Linked DNA regions of Homo sapiens: regions 2, 3, 4 and 5 are each linked to region 1. The links are contacts of gene promoters, found by promoter capture Hi-C in blood cells and fetal thymus (Javierre and others, 2016). All regions are on one chromosome and are shown on one strand. The core of a region is centred on a gene start or on the middle of the fragment in contact, and the rest is flanking DNA. Distances in the headings are between cores, read along the strand shown.

Evidence for each region. The method cuts DNA at HindIII sites, captures the fragments that hold promoters and counts their contacts. A CHiCAGO score of 5 or more calls a contact.
Region 2: a contact is called between a fragment that was not itself captured here and the fragment with the promoter of SLC10A4 in region 1, in 2 of 17 cell types (megakaryocytes and erythroblasts). The highest score is 6.4, in megakaryocytes.
Region 3: a contact is called between a fragment that was not itself captured here and the fragment with the promoter of SLC10A4 in region 1, in 1 of 17 cell types (megakaryocytes). The highest score is 7.5, in megakaryocytes.
Region 4: a fragment that was not itself captured here is called in contact with the fragment with the promoter of SLC10A4 in region 1 in 1 of 17 cell types (erythroblasts); the score reaches 7.0 in erythroblasts.
Region 5: a fragment that was not itself captured here is called in contact with the fragment with the promoter of SLC10A4 in region 1 in 1 of 17 cell types (erythroblasts); the score reaches 5.7 in erythroblasts.

What each region holds. Positions count from the first base shown.
Region 1 is chr4:48,481,913-48,484,637 of GRCh38, reverse strand. SLC10A4 (solute carrier family 10 member 4) reads right to left here and starts at 1,295. Exons shown (of 3, transcript NM_152679.4): 1 at 487-1,295. The coding sequence starts at 1,076. RefSeq lists silencers at 1,116-1,245, 1,326-1,375 and a cis regulatory region at 2,630-2,725. The HindIII fragment of the contact is 5,112 bases long and covers 1-2,022 here.
Region 2 is chr4:48,331,757-48,334,456 of GRCh38, reverse strand. No RefSeq gene overlaps it. Among named protein-coding and RNA genes, the nearest start is that of SLAIN2, 8.4 kb to the left of the region's middle. The HindIII fragment of the contact is 5,021 bases long and covers 1-2,700 here.
Region 3 is chr4:48,295,783-48,298,482 of GRCh38, reverse strand. No RefSeq gene overlaps it. Among named protein-coding and RNA genes, the nearest start is that of TEC, 27 kb to the right of the region's middle. RefSeq lists an enhancer at 1,623-2,700. The HindIII fragment of the contact is 499 bases long and covers 1,078-1,576 here.
Region 4 is chr4:48,260,993-48,263,789 of GRCh38, reverse strand. The region is part of intron 1 of TEC (tec protein tyrosine kinase); the gene reads left to right. Among named protein-coding and RNA genes, the nearest start is that of TEC, 7.4 kb to the left of the region's middle. The HindIII fragment of the contact is 969 bases long and covers 1,044-2,012 here.
Region 5 is chr4:48,348,520-48,351,288 of GRCh38, reverse strand. The region is part of intron 1 of SLAIN2 (SLAIN motif family member 2); the gene reads right to left. Among named protein-coding and RNA genes, the nearest start is that of SLAIN2, 8.4 kb to the right of the region's middle. The HindIII fragment of the contact is 2,490 bases long and covers 67-2,556 here.

The DNA.
Region 1 (2,725 bases), core at 46-2,545:
GCAAGCCCCCTGCAAGGTAAGCCATGGTAAAGCTGCTGACTGCTACTTGTTGGTCGGACTCAACAATCCTGCACTCTATGTGAGATTACTTTCTCTGACGGGCCAGTAGCCCTATTTTACTTTTACGTTGCCGGCGAGTTCTAGTTCAGACTCCCCCTTCTCTTTGTCTTCCACTGGACAACGACCTGCGCTGCCACCCCGACGCTCGGGGAGGACGGCGAGGGACCCTGCTGAAGGGCCGCGCTGCGCATGGAATCCCAGCCTTGGAGCAGCTCCCTCGCCGTCTAGCTTGCTCCCCTAGCAGCACAACCTGCAGGTCGGCCTTGACTTCTAAAGCCGGGGCGTCATCAACTTCCTCTCCTTTTCTCCTCCTTCCTCCACGCCTAATTCCAACCCCTCCACTGCCTCTGTCCTTCGTCGTGAGCCCACGGCCGTAAACGCGCGTCTGGGATGAGACAGATGCCCAAGGAATAGACAGATCCGTACCTGAGGTTCATGTCGCCGTCAACCAGCAGGGACATAAGATTGGAGAGATTGCCGCCGGGACAGCAGCCACACAGGAGCACCGCCACGGCGGCCACCTCGTCCAGCTTGAAGGCGAGGGCCAGCAGGAAGGCCAGCAGCGGCAGGAGGCCGAACTGGCAGAGCGCTGCCAGCAGCGCGCCCACGGGCCGACGGACGTGCGCCCCGAAGTGGTTCACGTCCACCGTGCAGCCCAGGCCCAGCATGGTGATGCACAGGGCGGCGCCCACGAACACGTTCAGCCCGTGGTTCAGCGGCGTGTCCCAGAACGGGAGCGCGTGGGGCGCCCAGGGCCGAGGGAACGGGGAAGGGCCGTGGCTCGCCGCGCCGCCCGCGAGGCCGCTGGTCGTGGGCTCCGGGGTCGGAGTGGGGCCGGGGCTGAAGCCGAAGCTCGGACCCGGCCCGAGGCTGAGCCCAGGGCCGGGGCCGGCGCTGGAGGCAGGGGCGAGGGCGAGGTCCGTGCCGGGGCCCAGGCTGCTGGCATTGGGCGCCAGGGTGTAGTTGTCCCGCAGCAGAGGGGCGAAGAGCAGGGTCACGTTGTCGTTGCCGTCCATGGCGCGGCCGGAGCTGCGGATTCCGGTCCCCTCCCGCCGCGTGCCTCTCGCCGTCCCGCGGTCGCCGCAGTCGCCGCCCGTCGTTCTGCCCGTCGGTCTCCGAGCCCCGGCTGCGCGCCGCTGACGTGCTCGGCGGCGTCGGGGGCGGCGGGCCGGTCTCCGCTCCCAGGTCTGCAGCCGCCCGCAGCCTGGCACTCCGCGCAGCGCGGCCCCCCGGGTGAACCCAATCGCTGCGCCGGCTCCGCGCCGCGGCCCCGCGCCCCGCAGGCCCCGCCCCGCCCTGCCGCCCGGTCCCCTCCTGTGAATCGCCAGTAAGTGGTTCTGTTATCGAGTGTAGCCAGGGGCGGAACAAAGACCTGACAAAGGACCAGAGCAGGAAAAAACCGTTCCTGGCTGCCGATCAAGTTCTCTGATGGGCTCTGCCTCTTTATAATGAAATCTGGAGACCCAGACACACAAAGTGGAGGGGGCGGGTGGATAACCTCATCGATGCACGCTCATGGCAGAAACTGTTCCTATAGCCTGCAGCCCTAAGAGGGGTGCTTGACTTAATATGAGCGATTCTCTAGTAAGCAGGACACGATATCTGGCTTGAATTTGCAAACAATTTTTTGCATGATTTTCAGTCTTAAAGTAGAATGTAATAATAATATAGCGGGTTTTGTGCAAGTGCGTGTGCATTATTTCATTCGATTCTTACAGCAAAGCCGTGAGATAGATACCATTTTTACAAGCTCGATTTTTACAAACGAGGAAACTGAGGAACGAGGAATTCTCAGTCTTATCAACCGAACCCACAAGTACCTGGCTGAATCTGCACGGCGATGTGTCCCTAAAGAGGGCAGAGAAGAGCTTGGCTAATAACAATTTCCATGAAAAATGTGTGTTTAAGAAGTTATTGGCAGGTGGAGAGAGGATATTTCAGTGGCCACAGATTTACGAAGCTTTATGAGTAAGGCCCTGGCATTAGGATTAAAGGACTGAAAAGAAATAAAGTGCTGAGATTCCCTGCTTGAGACAGGTTTATCCCAAAACAATTCAAAAGCAGAGCTCTTAGGAATGGAGATGCAACAACTTTTAAGTCAGTCACTAGATGGCATGTAGAAAGGAAAATAATTTCGCTGCTTACCAACCAGGTGGGGCCTGTTAAGGAGGCATCTAGCTCCCTGGGGGTGACCATAAAGTGATAGTCAGTTGAGTTGTAAAAACCAACAGGAATTTCTAGAATGAAATCAAGGCTCAGTCTTAGCCCAGGGTTGCTTTCACAAGGAGCCAAGATATAGTGAATTCTTCTATCTGGGAACTTTTCCCTAACTCCTGTCCTGGCACAGAGTGACTTCTATTACCCAAGGGTGGGCTGAGCCTTTCCTCCTCCCCAAATCTCATGAAGATGATGGAGACTATGAAAAGTAAGACTTTGCAAATGCAAAGCATATTGCACTCTTCATCACAAATAATTTATTTTTTCTCTTTTGGACTGTAAATTCCACGAGGGCAGAGCTTTTGCAAGAATCTAGGAGGATAATGTACCCTTACACTTTTCCAAAACACTAAACCCAGAAAAAAAAACTTCAGTGAGCTAAACTTTAAAGGAAGTGGGTTGTGACCAAAAATATTTTAAGTTGACATGTCACCTTATGTAGGTAAAA
Region 2 (2,700 bases), core at 68-2,567, 150 kb after region 1:
AGAAGACATGCCTTTCTATCTCTTCACCTCTGATGCATTCAGAGCTACATCATAATGTTGCACAAGGTCCCCTTTAAGAGTAGGTGTAGCCTGTTAGAGTCCAGGCAGGGCATATGAACATAGAACAAGTAACTTCTCCTACACTCAGTCGAAAGGCCACAACCTCCACACAGAAGGTGAGGTTCTTCCTGAGCACAATAATGTAGTTGCCAGATCTTCCACATGGCTGTATCAATGGGCTTGACTCTGGAGCCTTAGATTTGGGCAAGAACATTTAATCATCCCTTGAAGGACCACCAGCTAGGATTGTTACCATGAGAGAATATGGGGAGGAGCTATTTAAGAGGATCCAAAATGATGTGCTGCAGGGCTCCAGGCTCATTTTATTGTGTCAGTCTTATTTAAAGGTGTAAGTTTCTCAAGCAGTGACTAGTTCAGGGAAAAAGAAAAAAAATAAAGGCATAAGGCTCAAACAATCCTTTAACTGACCTCTAAGCAGGTAATAAATATTACTACTTTTTTTCTTATAGTTTCTTATTTTTTACCTTTTTTATGTTCAACTCTTTAGTCCACTTGAGATTTTTTTTCTGGTATGTTATGTGAAACATAAATCACATGGACACTTTTATATGGGGCACTGTCACGTGCAGGATTACAAATACCTGTTGTATTTATTCATTCAGTCATCCATTACCAGTTCAAGGCACATTGTTAGGGACCAGAGATGATAAACATCAAAAAGAATGTGCTTCTTAATCGGTAGCAGCTTATTGTCCATTTAAGGAGATCAGAGGTACATAAATTACTGTATATACAAAGCAGCATGTAAAAAGTGCCATGTGAGTGATGCGAACAAGAAAGAATATAAAATATAAGGATTGTTTTTTATTTTTACCTGAGGGCATATTAGGGAACTAGCAGTAGATTCCTTCTGCCTGGAATAAGAGTTTTCCCAGAAGAAGTGTCACTTGAGATGTACCTACAGGGACAGGTAGCAATCTTAATCATGACTTGTTGGATATAATGAACAGAAATCCTCTTGTATCATCTCAATTTAAAAAGGGAGCTATCCACTTATCTTGCTTCTAAGAATCTATTCTAAAAGTAAACTGGCTAAAACATATAATGACCTATGCACATAGCTATTTTTTATGGTATTACTTGCAATAGCAAAAGACTGAGAACAACCCAAATATTATCAATATGGGGCTAGTTTAAAAAACTATGATACATCCACATAATGGAGGACTGTGCATCAATAAAAAGAAAAGAGATGAAGATCTCCATGAAGCTCCAGGAAAGCTGGTTCAAAATGGTGCTTATGGTATACACCTTTAGCACAAGAAGCAGGAAAGGATATGAAAATGTATACATAAATGCTTATGTTTGTAAAAAGATACAATCGAAAGATAAACCCAAAATCAATAAAAATGTTAAACAAATGGAGAAGGAGGGAATAGAGTGAAGGGCATAGAAATAGTGCTATGGAGAAGAAATACATCGAGAAAGGAGGATAGGGAATGTGGGTGAGGGCAGAATTGCAATTTTATTATTTATTTATTTTGAAACAAGGCCTTGCTCTGTCACCCAGGCTGGAGTGCAGTGGTGCAATCTCAGCTCACTGCAATCTCTGCCTCCTGGGCTGAAGCAGTCCTCCCACTTCAGCCCCCAGAGTGGCTGGGACCACAGGCATATACCACCGCGCCCAGCTAATTTTTCTATTTTTTGTAGAGATGGAGTTTTGCTGTGTTGCACAGGCTGGTCTCCAAATTCTGTACTCAAGTGATCCACCCGCCTTGGCCTCCCACAGTGCTGGGATTACAGGTGTGAGCCATTGCTCCTGGCCAAGATTACAATTTTATTTTATTTTTTTGAGAGAGAGTCTCTCTGTGTCACCCAGGCTGGAGTGCTGTGGCGCAATCTCGGCTCACTGCAACCTCGCCTCCCTGATTCAAGTGATTCTCCTGCCTCAGCCTCCCAAGCAGCTGAGATTACAGGTGCCCACCACCAGGCCCAGCTAATTTTTGTTATTTTTGTAGAGACAGGGTTTCACCATATTGGCCAGGCTGGTCTCGAACTCCGGACCTCAAGTAATCCACCCACCTTGGCCTCCCAAAATGCTGGGATTACAGGCGTGAGCCACTGTGCCCGGCCGGGATTGCAATTTTAAATAGGGTGCTCAGGGCAGGCCTCGCCTAGAAGATGATGTTTGAACAAAACTCTGAAGGAGGGTGAGGGAGCCAACCAGGCAGGAAACTGCGGATGAGCATACCAAGCAGAAGAGCAAGTACAAAGGCCCTGAGGCAATAATGTGCCTGGCTTCAGGGAAAAACAAGGTTGGATGACTAAACTGGAATGAGTGTCAAAGAGCGTGGTGGAAAATGAAGTCAGAGAGATGGAGGAAAGATTCCTTACAGCCTGTAGTCAGTTGTGAAGACTGACTTTTACTCCGTATGACATAAGACAAGGCAGGATTTGAGCCGAGGAGTGACAGGACCTAACTTATATTTTGATGGGCTCTCTCTCTGTTTCTTGCATGTTTGCCATTTGCCCCCTTCCCCCTTATTCTATCTCAGAACCCCTGCTTACTCATGTTCTGTGTTCTCTAACATCAGTCTACATGTGGCGTTGGGTTTGGTGTTGTAACAACTGGTGACATTTCAGTTCATGTGACTACTATGACCTAATCACTCAGTCTCT
Region 3 (2,700 bases), core at 78-2,577, 190 kb after region 1:
TATTATTAGATGTTTATTGAAAGCATTACAAATCATGTAATCTGCCATCATAATGTATTAGAATAAATATAAACAGGGATCGAATTGTTTGTTTTTATGGTCTCTGTATCTATCAGTCTTCTTTGCACCTGGGAGATTCAATAAATGATTGTTAAGGGCCAGGTGTGGTGGATTACGCCTGTTATCCCAGCACTTTGGGAGGCCGAGGCAGGTGGATCACTTGAGCTCAGTAGTTCGAGACCAGTCTGGGCAACATGGCGAAACCCTGCCGCTATAAAAAATACAAATTAGCCAGTCATGATGGTAGGCATCTGTAGTCCTAGCTACTTAGGAGGCTAAAGTGGGAGGATTGCTTGGACCTGGGAGGTCAAGGCTGCAGTGAGCTGAGATTGCACCACTACACTCCTGCCTGGGCGACAGAGTGAGACCCCATCTCAAAAAAAAAAAAAAAAAAAAGATTGTTAAGCAAATATATTAAGTTAGGGAGATGTTAAAATTATTTTACTTATTTCTTAAGAATATAAATAATTCAAAATATCTTTATTTTTCAAAAATCTCTGGATTAAAATCCAGATCAAGACTTGTAGATATTTTTAAAAGAACTATCCTCATCTAAAATATGACAGATTTTGCCTGAAGAGCCACTAATCCTTTCATCATCTATAATTCTATTTTATGAAATTCTATTTTATGATTTCATAACTCATTGGCCTACAGATGGCAAAAAAATAACCAGTTATTTTTCATATCCTTTATTTTCAGAAAAACTGAAACACAAAACAGAACATGCATAATTAAGCAGACCTATATTGTCAATGGCAAACAGAGTTGAGCAATTCTGTGGCCTAGTGGATTCAGATAGCAGAGCTGTGTGACTAGTCTAAACAATTCTCACTCAAGATGACAGGGTGTATGCTATTTTTACATGTAGTGAGGATAACTTTAAAAAATGGATATATGCTTTAAATAGTCTTTTTCACACTCCATGTTGACTATGCACATGGCCTGAAATGAGAATTAGAGTACAGTATAAATACCATAGGAGCAGCTAATTGACAACCAACAGCTTTGAAAGCTTTGGATTGTAAAATTGCAAAACTTGCCAGGAGATAGAAGGGAAAACAGAAACCATTATCTAACCAAATGCTGCCAGTTCAGAGTTTTTCTTAGTTTCAGCAATGGCCCAAAGGAACGGCAATTCAGACCACGATGAATCTAGATGCATCTGTTGCAGTATGAAAGATCTTTCCTAGGACAGGGTAATCAATCTCTCTGAAGAGGTTGTGGGCAATTTTAGGGTCAATTAAGGAATCTCATTTAATATAAAATGACTAGGGATCCCTTTATATCATGAACTCAGGCTATGGAAACGCCAACGGCAGTGTTTTCCAAAGTGTGATGCCTGGGAGTATTTAACACAATGTTGTTTTCCCTGCTCACCCTTCTGTGAATGTACTACCATGGTATGCTCTAGATCTGGGGCCACTAGTCACACATGGCTATTAATCACTTGACAGTGATGAATCCAAAGTGAGGTGTGCTGTAGGTATAAAATATACACAAAAATGTGAAAGCTTAGTACAAAGAAGGCAAAACATCTTAATAATTTTTTTGTACCAATCACATGTTGAAGTGATAATATTTTGGATAAATTGGTTTAAATAAGATACCTTATTAACATTAATTTTGCCTATTTCTTTTTACCTCTTTCAATGTAGTTATTAGAACACTTTCGATTACACATGTGGCCTGCATGTGTGGCTCATCTTATATTTATATTGGATAGCTGCTGCTCTGGACAGACCACTTGGCAGAGCTCCTGTCCATCACAACATTCCACTCCCACAGCATGCTGGGAGTTACACCTGGGAGCACTAGAGAAAGCTCTAGCCCAAGCTGAGTGAGGAGGATTTATCTGATGGCCAACAGCAGGGGGATGCGTGAAGGAGCTAGGTGCTGAGTGCCTGGGGCTGAGTCGGAGGTCGAGATTGAAAGTGGACGAGGTAGAGGGAGGAAATAACACATCTTTGCACTTTCGGTTTCCTTACTAAGTGGATTTAAGTGAAAGAAGTGAGTAAATTTAAAAAATGTATTAATATAGTAGGTCTGTGGATTTGTAAATATAGCAATTGAAATTTGTTCTATACATCATTGTGACTGTTCACTTAATATTCTTTGAACAAAACCATTGACATCATTGTGACTGTTCACTTAATATTCTTTGAACAAAACCATTGACATCATTGTGACTGTTCACTTAATATTCTTTGAACAAAACCATTGACATCATTGTGACTGTTCACTTAATATTCTTTGAACAAAACCATTGATATATGTACATACCTATATTATGATATGACTCGCTGGTTTTTATTGTGAATTCTGAACTTTTCTATTTCATTCTAAACACAGCGGGGGGTTTATTTTCTCTATGATCTCAGGAGCTAGCTAGCTCTAGGTCATTCAAGGAAGGAGGGAAGCTAACTTCTCTGTCCCTCACTGTTCCCCTCTAACTTTACCTATACCTGAAGCAGTCAAATTCTCATGCTACTTTGCCATTTGACACTTAATCAAAATACCTACACTTAGGATCCATGATAGGAGCTGGTAATATCCTGAGTTGTCCATTCGAATGTTTCTATCAGCCTCAGAAGAGTTGATTGAGTTGCATTATGATGGAAGGATGTTCAATAGATAGGG
Region 4 (2,797 bases), core at 279-2,778, 220 kb after region 1:
ACCTATATCTTAGGTTGGGTGGTACGTAGATTACTGGCATAGAGCCCTTGTTCCTGTTTCTTTCTTTCTTTCTTTTCTTTTTTTTGGCGGGGGTGGAGACAGTCTCGCTCTGTCACCCAGACTGGAGTGCAGTGGCATGATCTCAGCTCCTGGGTTCAAGTGATTCTCCTGCGTCAGCCTCCCGAGTAGCTGGGATTACAGGTGCACGCCACCACACCCAGCTAATTTTTGTATTTTTAGTAGAGACAGGGTTTCACCATGTTGGCCAGGCTGGCCTCGAACTCCTGGCCTCAGGTGATCTGCCTGCCTTGGCCTCCCAAAGTGCTGAGATTACAGGTGTGAGCCACCGCCTGGCCTATTGTTCCTGTTTCTTGAATTCACTTTGTGTAGGATGACTCTTTCTGCCATCTTGACCTCTGAATGTTTTACCTTTCAGTGAAGTGCAGCTTCTATTAAGTCCAATATTATTTTAATCTGAAAGATGGGATTGGTGTCATTGATGGCCATGTGGCCTCAATGGAAGTTATCATTATTTCCTTCTGGAGGCCAGTTTATCACACAACTGCCTTACCAGCAGCAGCACCCTTACTTCCCTTTCCACTTGTGCCCTCCTTGGAATGTGAACCAAGTTCCTGTTTCTGGCTGGGCTGATGTACCCTGCCGTTTGTGGATGATCACGACTTTCCCAACGTCATTTCATCAGTTGAGTCATTCCTCAGGCTCCCTTAATGGGCTGTGAACTTCCAGCATGCTCTCCCAGTTGCTTTGTAACATCAACATTCTTTATGGTTACACACATGATGACAAGAGTCAGTTTCCACAAAAGTAGGAGGATAATTGTTCCTAAGCCATCTTATCTGTGCAGAAAAAGCAAAGCTCGATCTTCCCATGATGGCAGCTATGCATTGGCAATACAGAAAACAGGAGTGCTGGCGATTGTGACAATGGAGTGGGTGCAACAATTACTTTATCTTTGGAGGATGACAGATGGTTAAAAAGGCTTTTTCAGCAGGTACCACTAGGCACCATTGTGAACAAAAGCTTGGCTAGTAGGGATACTGCAGAGCTCATTCCTCCCACTGTGCTTCCACAAGCATCCTTCCCTTTTCTAAACGAAGTCTTTGAAGTCATTGGAACCTCCCTTTTCCAGGCAGTATAGTTTTTCTGTAATGTACTGGGTCTTCACAGAAGTTCTTTCCTAGGGAAAGCATAGTACCAAGCAAGTACTTAATATACTGAATGAATTTTCCAGACAATTTTGGACACTTTATAGTTAAGAAAAAATGATATTTGGGCCAAGAGTGGTGGCTCATGGCTGTAATCCTAGCACTTTGGAAGGCTGAGGCAGGTGGATCACTTGAAGTCAGGAGTTCAAGACCAGCCTGGCCAATATGGTGAAACCCCATCTTTACTAAAAATACAAAAATTAGGTGGGCCTGGTGGCACGTGCCTGTAATTCCAGCTACTCGGGAGGCTGAGGCAGGAGAATCTCTTGAACTCAGGTAGCAGAGGTTGCAGTTAGCTGAGATCGCACCACTGCACTCCAGCCTGGGCAACAGAGCAAGACTCCGTCTCAAAAAAAAAAAAAGAGACATTTGGTCACAATTACCCAAGTTGTACTCAACAATCTAAATTCTCTAAATTCTTGATTAGACTTTCACATCACTTGTCTATATATGGATTGAAATATAGAGCATTCAATTTAAGTTTTCTCAAGTGTATTGTTTCTTGTATTATTTAGAAATATTCTTCACTGAAAACATTCTTGAAAGGACAACATACATTATTATCATTATTTTCCATCTGTATATTTTTTCTTAGCATAGTGTTATGATTATCTTAGTTTTTATGGCTACAAAGAATGGCTTTTGGAGGAGGGAGGGAAGTAAGTATTCATTATGTTATCTCATCAGTTTTATGTTTCTAAAGGAGGAACACTTTTGTTTGGATTTCTACAATATATACTTTTGCCTTTTGTAACTATATGTCATTTGTTTTTCAAGGTTAAAGCTTTTAACCTTGAAATGCTTACAATAGAGTATCAAAGCGACAGACTTTAACTTGTCATGTACTATATGAGATACTTACAAGGTGAAACTCCCTGTCAAGTATCCTACTCCTTTTATTTTTAATTTTGGTGACATTATAATGTGATTTAGTAGGAAAAACCTTTGATTTTTCTTCTCTTATCCTTCATGGAATTCCAATGATATCTTTTGTTACTATTTCCTTAGAAACTCTTAATGTCCTCACATACTCCTCAATATTATGTTTCAACCACGACTTGTGGGATTTCCATATGACTGCCCCAAAAATGAAACTGGCTTTTTTTCTTACAAGAGTGATTTAAAGTTTCATTTTTCTGCCAATATGATTTAAGCATGCAACAAAGTTAGTTTTTACTATTAGGGTTATTTTTGATTTGTAGAAGGCAGTTGATTTCTTCATTTTCCTGCTTGGGTGATAAAAATGCTTGATCCTTCAACCATGCAGGGAAACAGAAATACAATTTAACTGGGTTTGAATGCTGTCAGACATGTAAATTTAGGTATACATGCTTTTGAATTTTTTTAAGGATTGTCAGTGTCTTTGTCACATACTTAAACCAGTTATAGAAGCATTGCATGAAATAATTCTTGTTCATAAGTTCTGGAGTCCTAGCCAGAAGACATTTTTTAGGCTCAGAGCTGTTGACACACCATCTTGCTTCCCCCAGGCAAAAGTTTGATCTTTGGGTGCCACCGAGGTTCTCAGACACCTGGTGTGCTCCTTGGACTCTCCTTGCCATCAGTAAAAA
Region 5 (2,769 bases), core at 62-2,561, 130 kb after region 1:
ATTAGGTATTAAATGCATACTAAAAACCTAACTTGAGAGTACCTATTAAATCCCATTCCTCAAGCTTATTGGAGTCAAGGGTCACTTACAGACTAGCTTGGCCCACTCCTGGTTCTCATTCACACTTTTCAAACAAAATAAGCCTCAAGAGCCACACATAATTGGGTACTTTCTTACTGTCTCACAGAGAGAGGAGCAGAAGCTCCTGAATGGAGTAGGAGAGGGATGTGTGGGGGAGGAGTTTCAGTCTAGTACACTGCAGAAGTGGGAGATGATTTGATTCATCCTCATGAATTATAAACCTGATTTTTAACTAAATACAACTTCCTTTGTCTTATCTTTCCAAATACTTTCAAGAATTTCATATCTGATACCGTGGTACTACATTATATTGCATCTATTATTCTTCATATTTCAAGGAGATAGAATCAATATTTTTTTCTCTAAAGTCTCTAATTTCTATTTTATTCCAGAATGTGAGACCTTTCCCAGATCAAAGTAAACTGTTCTGCAATTTCTGAGCCACTCCTAAAGACCTAGTTTAAAGCCTTCCTCTTAAATAAGCTAGTTTGTCCTAAAGTTGTTCATTTCCTCCATAACTTCGATCCCAAAAGATCTCAGAAGACGTAATTTTGAGTAAATGAAAGAGGTGAAATAAGAACTTATTATTACCAAAGCCTTAAAACCTACATTATTTTACAAATTCATTTTTGCTACTGAAAATTAGCCCAACAGGAGTCACATGCAATGTGCTCTGGGTAGTACAGATAATTACTACAAGGAATAGTGTATTCAGGTAATGCAAACCATTTATATTAAGACACTACTTAATTCTGCTATTTACTGCCCAAATTGCCATTTTAAAAAATAATGTCAAAATTACATGAATTTATATAGTTATAGATATGTTCCTAGCAGAAGGGTAAGGAGGCAGGGGTCTGCGTAAGTGGAAGTAGAAGGCAAGTAGCCTTTTTGGGCTACCAGGGTATCAGCACCAGGTTCCCTGGGCAATCTGGCATAGGAATTTGAATACACGGAGGCCCCAAAGATGGGGACTGAGGAGCAGTAGCAACATCAGTGATCCAGAAGGCTCACAGGATGTGAGCTATACAACTTTGGTGTTCCTTATCTGATATTCCTAAAAACCAAAGTTGTGTTTTTCATGAAAACAGACTACATGATTTATTTAGGTAGATCTGATAAATGTTTTAATAGTTACACTTGTGGAATTTAATTTTTTAAGTGTAAAGTTAAGAACATTCTAAGAAGCATTCTAAATCACTTTCGGTCCTGGGTGCTACCCAGTTCAATAAATGTTTTTTTTGCCCAATTAAATTGTTAAATTTAAAACAAACAAGAATAATAGATCATAAGATCAAATACATATCTTGGGTTCCAATTCTATCAAAAATGTGCTATCATTACAGCACAGTGCTCCACCTATGGCAGTTACTCAATAAATGAAACCATATTTGTTGAAGCCAAAATGTATCCATCTGTGATATATAATCTTACTACTACTAAGTAACAAGGAAAACTACAAGTAAAAAGGCTTCTAATGTATCATGTTATATTATGATCCCCACATGATCACAGAGTAATAAAACTGACTTAAATTTTATCAATAGGATTTTTTAAATTCTAAAAGCAATTCATGTCTTATCAGAAAACTTGGAAATCACAAAAAGTACAAAGAAGTTTAAAACAAAGTGCTTCTGTAATCCTACTAAACAGAGCGATGCCAGTATTTTGGCTAATTTTTAAACTTATTTTAAAAATCACACACTACATCTAGACAGTATTTTCTTCTTTAATTCATCATGGGAAAGTATACATTCAATACTGCCATTATTCAGAATCTGTGAAGTATCTCATCTGTAACTGGCATAAGCGTCATGTAAGAAATCTGGTCTCACTGTTTTACAGTTTTGCCTCATTTTAACCTAACATCACTGATAGATTGATTTCATTTAAATTAATGTCACTGAACTCTTACTACACTGTGGTCCTGTTCAGAAACATAAAGATGAATATGCTACTATCCTTCTGCTTAAACTGCTCACATTCTAGACTACACAGACCAAAGCACAAGGTGGTTGCGTTAAATATACTCTAAAAAAGGGTATATAAACAGTGATAGGTTAACAATGAAGAGGAAGTAAACCAAGTTAAAAATTCAGGAGAATTTCACAAAGGAAAGAAAATCTGCATTGTGCCTGAAGAATAAGTAAAATTTTGGTAAGAGGAGGAAGAGAAAAAAACAGATGAACATCAAAAGCCAAAGGGCATAAATGTTCTTGAAGGTTCTGGCAAAAGCAAGTAAATCTAGGAAAAAAGTAAATTAGCGCTGGACTGCTGAGGACTTTTAAATACCCTGCTAACTCATTTTTATTCACCAGGCAAGATAATGACTTCTAATGGTTTTCAAAATTCAAACCTACCCTCAAGAGGAAAACAACTGGCCATTACTGAGGATATTCAGAGAAATGTGCCACAGACTTAAAGGGAAAACATTCATGATGCTTCCGCTGCTAAATATCTCCTCACACTTAAGCTTAGCACTCTGTCTTAAAGGTATCTTCTTTTTTTTTTTTTTTTTGAGACAGAGTCTTGCTCTGTCGCCCAGGCTGGAGTATAATGGCGTGATCTCAGCTCACTGCAACCTCTGCCTCCCGGATTCAAGCAATTCTCCTCCCTCAGCCTCCCAAGTAGCTGGGATTACAGGCGCCCACCACCATGCCCAGCTAATATTTTTGTATTTTTAGCAGA